2 separate regions of the Homo sapiens genome follow, and region 1 is linked to region 2. The links are contacts of gene promoters, found by promoter capture Hi-C in human tissues and cell types (Jung and others, 2019). All regions are on one chromosome and are shown on one strand. The core of a region is centred on a gene start or on the middle of the fragment in contact, and the rest is flanking DNA. Distances in the headings are between cores, read along the strand shown. Region 1 overlaps LRRC52-AS1 (LRRC52 antisense RNA 1). Region 2 holds the start of RXRG (retinoid X receptor gamma).

Evidence for each region. The method cuts DNA at HindIII sites, captures the fragments that hold promoters and counts their contacts. A contact is called where the count stands out against the background at its distance.
Region 1: a contact is called between a fragment that was not itself captured here and the fragment with the promoter of RXRG in region 2, in 1 of the 25 tissues and cell types used here (liver).

What each region holds. Positions count from the first base shown.
Region 1 is chr1:165,478,923-165,483,829 of GRCh38, forward strand. It overlaps LRRC52-AS1 (LRRC52 antisense RNA 1), which reads right to left. Exons shown (of 7, transcript NR_026744.2): 6 at 3,427-3,685. Among named protein-coding and RNA genes, the nearest start is that of RXRG, 36 kb to the left of the region's middle. The HindIII fragment of the contact is 7,158 bases long and covers 1-4,907 here.
Region 2 is chr1:165,442,735-165,447,783 of GRCh38, forward strand. It overlaps RXRG (retinoid X receptor gamma), which reads right to left and starts at 2,392. Exons shown (of 10, transcript NM_006917.5): 1 at 2,111-2,392. The coding sequence starts at 2,159. The HindIII fragment of the contact is 18,328 bases long and covers 1-5,049 here.

The sequences.
Region 1 (4,907 bases), core at 1,865-4,364, 37 kb after region 2:
TATCAGAGAACAATAATTAGAAACCAAAATCTGGCTTCTAGGCATGCTTATTGCTGCTGGGGTATCACTGCATTTAGGACCTCTCAGCAGACAGAGGTAGGAAATATATTCATGTGTACTAACCTACATATACACATATCTTTTTTTTTTTTTTTTTTTTTGAGACGGTGTCTTGCTCTGTCACCAGGCTGGAGTGCGGTGGCACAATCTCAGCTCACTGCAACTTCCACCTCCCGGGTTCAAGCGATTCTCCTGCCTCAGCCTCCCAAGTAGCTGGGACTACAGGCACCTGCCACCACACCCGGCTAATTTTTGTATTTTTAGTAGAGATGAGGTTTCACCATGTTGGCCAGGATGGTCTCGATCTCCTGACCTCATGATCCACCTGCCTCGGCCTCCCAAAGTCCTGGGATTACAGGCATAAGCCACCGTGCCCAGCCCATATACACATATCTATATGTCCTATATCTATCTGCCTACATATACTAAAATCAGTATGAGTTTATACCTCTGACTCTGACTCAGCAGCACAAGATTGAGTCTAGCTTTCCCATCTTGTTTATTTGTAACTTGTTATCAGTCTATCCATTTCTGTTTGCCTTTATTCTCCTTAATCTTCTACTAGTGTTCATTTTAACTTGATTTCAACTGTAAAAATCCTTTAGGGTTGGGCAGAGTTTCTTAAACTTGAGTGAACATCAGAATCCCCAGAGGGCTGGTTAAAATGAGGACTGCTGGGCCCAACCTCAGAGCTTCGCATTCAATAGGTCTAGGCTGGAGCCAAGTAATTTGCATTTCTAACATGTTCCCAGGTGATGCTGCTGGTCTGGAGACCTCATTTGGAGAACCTCTGATCTACAGAAACCCTGGACTAAGAGGCAAACCCCTTCTCAGTACTCTCATAGTCCTTTATACATATTTCCAATATCTCAGTCTATAAGAATGATTCAGTTGCATTTCTACTCCCCAGTAGACTATGAGCTCCTTGCAGGCTAGGATTGTGACTTTCTCATCTCTGTAGTGCCTGAACCTGGCAAAATGTCTGGCACACAGTAGGTTCATATTAAATATTTGTTGAATGAATAAGTACAAGTTTCACATGTGTACCCCATCTTTATTTCTGCTAAGCAGAAAGGAGTGCAGGAAAGGTCAGAGATGAAAAACTGAGATCCATTTGATCTCCTCATTGCCTTCCTCTTCCTCTGATGGCAGAGAGAGGAGAGAAAGAGAGCCAGCAAGGTTAGGATGGGGTCAGAGCCCACTGCCCCCACCTGTTTAAGAGCTTGAAGTTCTTAAACTTGCTCTTTAAAGCTTGAAGGCATTAACTTCAGTGAAACTTCAGGGATTTTAATATCAGAGCAAGTATCTAAGAGGGTATTTCTAACTTTGAAGCCACAAGAAGGAAAAAAATATATATATATAAATATATATTTTTATATATTAAATATATAATATATTTATATATATTTTAAGGTTCATATGGATGATTTTTATTACATATCAGAATTAACCTATTCTTTCTGTAGAAATGAAAGTGAGAGTCAATAGGTAACTATATTATATACCAATCTATTTTTGTCACAATTTATTTTATTTTATTTTTTTTTAATTATACTAAGTTCTGGGATACATATGCAGAACGTGCAGGTTTGTTACATAGGTATACACGTGCCATGGTGGTTTGCTGCACCCATCAACTCGTCATCTACATTAGGTATTTCTCCTAATACTGTCCCTCCCCTAGCCCTTCACCCCTCAACAGGCCCCAGTGTGTGTTTTTCCCCTCCCTGTGTCCATGTGTCCTCATTGTTCAACTCCCACTTATGAGTGAGAACATGCAATGTTTGGTTTTCTGTTCCTGTGTTAGTTTGCTGAGAGTGATGGTTTCCAGCTTCATCTATGTCCCTGCAAAGGATGTGCACTCATCCTTTTTATGGCTGCATAGTATTCCATGGTGCACATGTGCCACAACAAATAAACATGATAAAATCATATCTAGTTAATGTGGTGGTATATCTTACCTAAGCATTTATGTCTATAAAAATGAATTTATGTGATTATCTGCTTTACATTTTAGTATCAAAAGAAGTTATATGTATATTTTAAAATAAACCACACCTGTGGCTAAGCTTAGTGTCTGAAATGGTATCACCAGAGTAACTGGCAACACCTGTACTAGTGGCACACTGTGACTCCAGGTTTACATAACTCAGCGGACTCCTCAAGTTTCTGTAAAGCTAACTGCAAGCCTATACCTCTCAGAGAATAATATTTTTCTTAAAAGTTTCATTGCTTTCTTCAAAAAGTGTTTGAGCATGACTATGTGTAAAGCATTGGCCATGGAGGATACAGTATGATCCCTGTTCATGAGAAGCTAACATTCTAGATATTAGCTAATACTCTAGATTCAACAAGGAAAGTGATCACACCTTAAGAAACAAACGCAGGCCGGCGCAGTGGCTCACACCTGTAATTCCAGCACTTTGGGAGGCCATGGCCGGTGGATTGCCTGAGCCCAGGAGTTTGAGACCAGCCTGGGCAACATGGCGAAAACCTGTTTCTACTAAAAAATACAAAAAGTTAGCCAGGTGTGGTGGCACAATCCTGTAATCCCAGCTACTCTGGAGCCTGAGGCAGGAGAATCGCTTGAACTGGGAAGGCAGAGGTTGCAGTGAGCTGGGATCCCTCCAGCTGCACTCCAGCTGCACTCCAGCCTGGGTGACAGAGTGAGGAGAAAGAAAGAAAAAAGAAAGAAAGAAAGAAAGAAAGAGAGAGAGGAAGGAAGGAAGGAAGGAAGGAAGGAAGGAAGGAAGGAAGGAAAGAAGGAAAGGAAAGAGAGAGAAAGAAAGAAAGAGAAAGAGAGAGAGAAAGAAGAGAAGGAGAGAAAGAGAGACAGGAGGGAGGGAGGGAGGAAGGAAGGAAGGAAGGGAAGAAGGGAGGGAGGGGAGACAGGGGAGGGAGGGAGGGAGGAAGGAAGGAAAGAAGGAAAGAAGGAAGCAAGGAAGGAAGGGAAAGAAAGGAAAGAAAGAAAGAAAGAGAGAGAAAGAAAAGAAAAGAAAAAAAGAAAGAAAAGAAAGAGAGAGAGAAAGAAAGAAAGAAGGAAGGAAGGAAGGAAGGGAAGGAAGGAAGGTAGGGAAGGAAGGAACAATACTCCGAGTATATGAAAGAGGGCTATGATGTAACCGTTACTTTGATAAATATCAATGTTAGAAGAGGTCTGACATTGACTGACAAAGACCCAATGTCTCCAGACACCTGTGTTAAGTCCTAAGAAGAACGGGGAGGGAAAGTAGGGGAGGGGAAAGGAAGTGACTTGGGAAATGAGCAATAAAAGAGAGAAGAGTTTGGGCCCAAGATGCCTCTGGCTATGGTTATTTCTTGTGTTCCAAACAGCTGGCTGTGTGTTTGGAGTTCTGGATGACTCACCACGTAGGAGGAGTGCTGCGGGAAGAAAGGAGAAAAACCACAGAGGAGGGAAATCCCCTTCAGCATCCTTGGGGTGTGGCTGTGGCATTCTGTCTCAAGGCCTCACACAGGCCAGCTAACATCTCGGGCTTCAGTGCTTGGAAGCCATTTAGGGGTGATTTTAAGACTCTTCCAGAAACCCAGGGGCTCATCCAGAGAGGAAAGGGACTTCATTCAGCTTCCTTGCTTATAAACCTAAGCAACCATGGGTGAAGAATCCCTGCAAAGAAAGAAGAAATATATACTTGTCAAAATGGAGATGTTCGCTTGAGTCTTCCTACCAGGAAAAGAAGAGGAAGTTGGGGGGAAGGAAGAAGACTAGCTTTGAGCATAGAATTTCATACATTACAAACGGGGCTGCACTGCAAAACCACACAGCCCTGTGATTTAAGCTCCTCGTGTAGTCTCAGTGAGTTCCTGGGTCTTCTTATAGACTGATTTGTATCCCCCTGCCTAAATTCCTATATTGAATCTTAAACCCCAGTACCTCGGAATGTGACTATAGAGATAGGGCCTTTAAAGAGGTGATGAAGCTCAAATGAGGCTGTTGGGGTGGGCCCTAATCCAATGTGACTGGTGTCCTTATAAAAAGAAGAGATGAGGACACAAAAAGAGGCACGAGGAACAAGAGTGCACAGAGAGAGGACCCCATGCAGAGGCAGCAAGAGGACTGCCATCTGTAAGCCAAGCAGAGATGCCACAGAGGAAATCAACCTTGCTGGTACCTTGAGCTTGGACTCCCAGCCTCCAGAACTGTGAGAAAATTGATTTCTCATGTTTAAGCTGCCCATTGTGAAACTTTATCATGGCAACCCTAGCAGACAAAACACTGGGGAAAGAGCTCCCATACAATTTGAATGTGGTGTCCCGGGAGGGCCTCAACACATGCCAGCTAAATCACTGCTGTTTCATTCCTACATCACAACCTGACCTCAGACCATTACTACAAGATACTAACATTTGAGTTTTCCCACCTGCCAGACACTATATTAGGCTGCTTTCTCACATATTACCTCATTTAATTGTTAATGCAAACCTGAGGCTCAAAAGAGGTTAAGTAGTTTCCCCAAGTGTATTAGTCCATTCTCACAGTGCTATAAAGAACTATTTGAGATTGGGTAATTTATAAAGAAAAGAGGTTTAATTGATTCACTGTTCTGTAGGCTGTACAGGAAGTGTGGCTGGGAGGCCTCAGAAAACTTAATCATGGTGGTAAGCGAATGAGAAGCAAGCACGTCTTACCATGACAGAGCAGGAAAGAGAGAAAAAGGGGAGGTGCTACACACTTTCAAACAACCAGATCTTGTGAGAACTCAATCCCAGCACTTTGGGAGGCCGAGGTGGGTGGATCACAAACTCAAGAGATCGAGACCATTCTGGCCAACATGCTGAAATCCCATTTCTACTAAAAATACAAAAAAAATTATCTGGGTATGGTGGCA
Region 2 (5,049 bases), core at 1,142-3,641:
ATAGCAGCTGTTTTTCACATGCTAACTCATTTAATTTTCACAATACTCTAAGGATGAGATTATAAATCCCATTTTAGAGAGAAAGGTGCTAAGGCTCAGAGAGGTTCACTAGCTTGCCTAAGGTCACACAGCTACTAGGTGAAAAATTGGGAACCAAACTCAGCACACTACCTCTTCCTGCCTCCTCTTCCTCCTGGTGCTCTTTTCACTATATTAAAGCAACAATATTATAAATTTGAGTAAGGGCTTTTCTGGAAGTGTTCTGCAGCTCAGCCCCATATAAATTTGGACTAGTCCCTGCCTTCTTTTGAGCCTCAGTTTACACATCTATAAGATGAGAGCCTAAGATGCTGTTTCAGGTCCTTAGGATGCTAACATTCCAAGATTCCAGCCCCCATGGAATTTTAACTAGATCTTCTTTCTCTGGCTCTTACTTTAGTTCTCTCCCTAAATCCTTCTAGCTTCAACCCTTTTATTCACCCCAACTGTCTCCAAGGGTCTCTTTGGCATTAATGAAGCCACAGTCTCACAGACCTTGGGGGGCCCACGAATCTGGCTGAAAATGAGCATGCACCTCTTACAAATGAACTAAGATGTAAAGGAAAAAGCAATTCTCAGCTCTGAATGGGACTGAGGTGGGAATTGAGGAGGCTTTTCACATCTGGAGCCCAACCATAGACTAGAGATCAAATGCCCAGGTCACAGCATTGGCCACCGCTCTCACTCTGTCATCAGACTGGCCCAAAGAACTTGAACATCACCTCGGGAACATTTCCATGGCCCTCACCCCAAGTCCAAGTACAACCTACGTTTGCTATTACACACATCATGCAGTATTATAATGTGCCTGTGTAACAAGCCTGCCCCAGTCCCAAAGGGCAGAGACTGTGTCTCATTCATATTTGTATTCCCAGTGCCCAACACCATGCCTGCCTCATAAAAACTACCCTGAATGAATGTGCAAACTCCCAGGTCTAACACCTCCTGGTGACAGAGATCACTTCTACCTTGCAGTGTGTCACCATGCCTCCCAGGGGGTTCTGCCCAGCCAAGTTAGGCAAGCTTTAGTCCCAAGCCTTCAGATGAATTGGTCCACGGAGGAAGTCTGGAGAGCAGGGACTTTTCAATTTTCAAAACCTTATAAGAATTTCTGCTGTCTTGCCTGCCAGAATCTTTCTTTGGCTCCCAGCAACATAAGCTGCATGCCTCCAACTGACAAGCGACAGGCCAGTTGGTCAGCTGTTGCTTCCATTTACTCAGAGCTGGGCGGCTGTACTGTTTCTGTCACTAAATCAAGGGATCCTTGGGACGGATGTGCTTGGGCGTTAAGGCAGCCTGAGGACCTAGTCTCCGGAAGCTTCTGTGAAGTGTGACTGGGCTGCCCTGCCTGGCACGGTGACTTGAATCTTCAGTTTGCCAATTCTCTAAGAGCCCCAACCCCCCATCCCCAGATCTCTACCCCCAGAGTGGAAGTGATTGCAGCAACTCTTGCAGTAGAATTGGGGGCAGCAGCAGGGGAGGAGAGAAGAGGCTATTAGCAAATCAAAGGAAAGAAAACAGGGGAAGGAAAACACAGTAGCAAATTAAAGCACTATGTTTTCTTTTTAAAAATCCAATTAAAGGGAAATCTGCTTTTGAGTAAAACAATCATGCCCTTGTTACAAAGTATCCCAGGAACCCTCAAGATAGGCAAAACCTTTTTAATCACATTTTTTCTCATTACAAGTTGGCTAATAGGAACATCATAGTAATTCCCCGTTAACTCTTCCACTTTTCACACCCGCACAAACACACTGGGTTATAACAATGCTCTTATTCTATCTTTGTCTCAGACACATTCTCAAGCATGTTGGTTTACTCTCTCCTTAGAATATCCCCGTATCCTCATTCTGATATGCAAACGTATCCTCACCTACAGACCATTCTTTCCTCCTCTCCTCTCTCATGCACGCGTGCACACACACGCTGAAACGCTATATACACACTATATATGCATATAAACATATATGTTCTCCTTTTAATTCAATACTAATCCAGTCATTCGTATTTCCCAATTTCTTCTCAGTCTCTCATACAGGTCCACGCAGTGAAGCCCAAGGGAGATACTTACCTCCATAGCCTGCGGGAAACTTCATGAAGTGAGAATAATTTCCATACATGTTTACTCGTCAGTTCATGTTCCTCTCCTGTGCAGCTTCTAAATATTACCGCCTCTCTCGGCTCCCAGGCACAGCCCGGCTTTCTTCAACTTGGGCTAACAAGAGTGGTCATCGCTTCCTAGCAGCCCGGGGAGCACAGGCTGGGCCAGCCCTCTGGGATTAGTCAGGAATCTGCCTCTAGATCGGAGAGTCCACATAGTGCGTTTGAGACGGCTGTGGCGGCAGCAGCTGGTGCCTGTCAGTAATCACGCATAATGCTGCCGCCGCCGCCGCCGCCGCCGTCACCGCTACTCTTGCCACCGCCGTCGCTGCTGCTTGAGATCCTGTTGCTAGTTTGATTAACTCAGGGTTGGGCTGCTGCGTGCGACTCTTCCAGCTCCCGGCGCGTCCCCAGAGGTCCCTACCGGGTGGCACGATCTATTATCTAGGAAGCCAATCGATGTATGACCGCCCGGTGTAGGTCAGGAGAGAGGCGGGAGACGGCAGGGGATGGAAGACTCTTTAGGTGCCTGTTCCTTGACTTACATCCACAAAAATCAATGGGATTTTATTAAAATGCATTTTCTCATTCGAACTTCTATCTGTCCAATGTACTTGGTATTTGATCTGTGAAAGGAGGAGGGGGTGGGGTTCAAGAGAGAACAGGGCCCTTTCAGAAGCACAAGATTAGAAAAGCGTGATACTCAATCTCCAGCTACGGAAAACTAAAATAGAGTAGCCCTTAAGTTGAGGTGGGCCTCTCCTGCTTGGGTGGCCGGAAGCATTTATCTGTGCTCTAACAATGGGAGTTTGACAAGTGCAGCTGGAGCCAGAGCTCACTCAGGTGGAAAACTTACAGGTAGGGAGGAGGGGTTGGCTTGATGTGGAGGTCTTTCTCTGCATTTATTTTATATACCATTGTTATCCTGCCGCCTGTTCAAAAACACCACTGGGTCCTCACTAACACAGAGCCTGTCTTGTGTGGAACTGACCCGAGATCAAAGAATCTAAGCACCCCGTTGATGTTTGGGTCTGTCATACAGTTTTCGTGACAAGTCACCGCTCAGCCTATACTTGAACACCTCCAATAATGGGGAGCTCACCACTTTCTCATTCCATTTCTAGATAGTTTTCACCACAAGAAAGTTTCTTATAGAGATAAAATCTGCTCCTTTTCCCTACAGCTTCTGCCCACAGGTGCTAGACTGCTCCCAGGGGCCACACAAGAGAAGCCTGAAAGACAAAAAAGTCTTTCACAGTGGGATCCTCTGCAAATCCTGAGATTGATCTGCTGTGCCCATAATCCCCCTTTCCCTAGGCATCTCTGGCTCTTTCAGTAATTCTATGTATCACCAAGGGTTCATGTCTATTCCCAACCTATCCTTTTTCTAATAATGTACTTCAGTTTACATAGATACCCTCACAGTGAGGAAGGGGGTTGGCCAGACTTGGATGCAATACTCCAGATATGGTCCAAACCTTTTCCTCATGGTATATGTGTTGGCACGGTGATGGGGTGCTGTCAACATACCCATTGAAGGTCCGTTTCATGGGCTGAGCTCTGTTGGGCTGGAAAAAAGATAAGAGATTTTCTCCTGATGCAGCATAAGACATAGAGAGCCAGAGAGGTAAGTCAAATCAGGGTCCCAGAGTAAAAAATCAAGATTCAAATGCTAGGAGAAGCCAAAACAAAAACGTAGAATAAAAGACCAGAGTCAGGAACAAAGTCATGATGACAAAGGAGGAGGCCAAAATGGGGAATCAAAGCAAAAGCATGTCACAAAGGAGGAAGAAATATCCAGGCCTTCACTGTAAAGAGCTTTGGAGAGCCCAGAGCTGCCTTGACTGTTGCTGGGATGAGAGTCCAGTGGACATAAGTAATATAGAATACAGGAGGACCATTTGCTCACTTGCATTAGGTGGGCAGCTCTGCATGTTAATTCATGTAGAACTAACTCGATAAAAATCTCCCCACCCCTACCTCCCCTAAGTTGTGTTCTCTTATGCATATTCTTCATCCCATCCTTGGGCAATTGGTTTTGGGACCTACATGAAATGCTTCCTATATTCCTCTGAAGTTAAAACTTTTTGGCTTCATTCATCATCCCAAATCTTTTAGGATCCTGCTTCTGTTGTCCAAAATATTTCTTATTCATACCCTTATTTCATGACTTCTGAAAATCTGATGAACTGCTTTTTCATATCTTATTCGACTCATTGATAAAAATGTTGACATAGACATAGCAAAGACAACATCTTATATCACTAAAAAGTCCATTCATTAGTGCCTTAGACACTTTGCTCTGCTACTCACTAGTTATATGGCCTTGAAAGGCTATATGTATAGTAAAAGCACCAACTCACCAACTCACAAGCCAACATTGCTGGGTACAAATCCCTGTTCCGCTGCTTACAGCCTCATGATACTGGCAAATGAGTAAATCTCCCTGAGCCTCAGTTACCTTATAGGGTTACCATGAGGATTAAATGAGTCAATACATGTTAAGCACTTGAAATACGCCAGATAAATACTAAATGCTCGATACATGTAATCTAATTTGAGGCAAATGATGGGGAGGAGGAGGAGGTCAAAGAGGAAGAGGATGTAACCTTAAGCAAGTCACTTTATGGCTCCTCTCCTTTTTCTCATTTGTAAAATGATGGAGCAGAGCTACATGGGTTCCAATATCATCTTCAGCTTTAAAACTGAACGCAGACTAATGCATCACCCATTCCATAATTGTCCATTTTCTCCATAGTGGTATCTGAAGCAAGTGTCTTACAATCTACAGTTTTCTATTGTACGCATGTCAGAGAAGGAAATGAGTTACTTAAACTGTTTTTTTGTGTGTGTGTGAACCCATGTTTCAAGGGTTTTTCCAAGTACTCAAGTACTCAAAAACCATTCTTT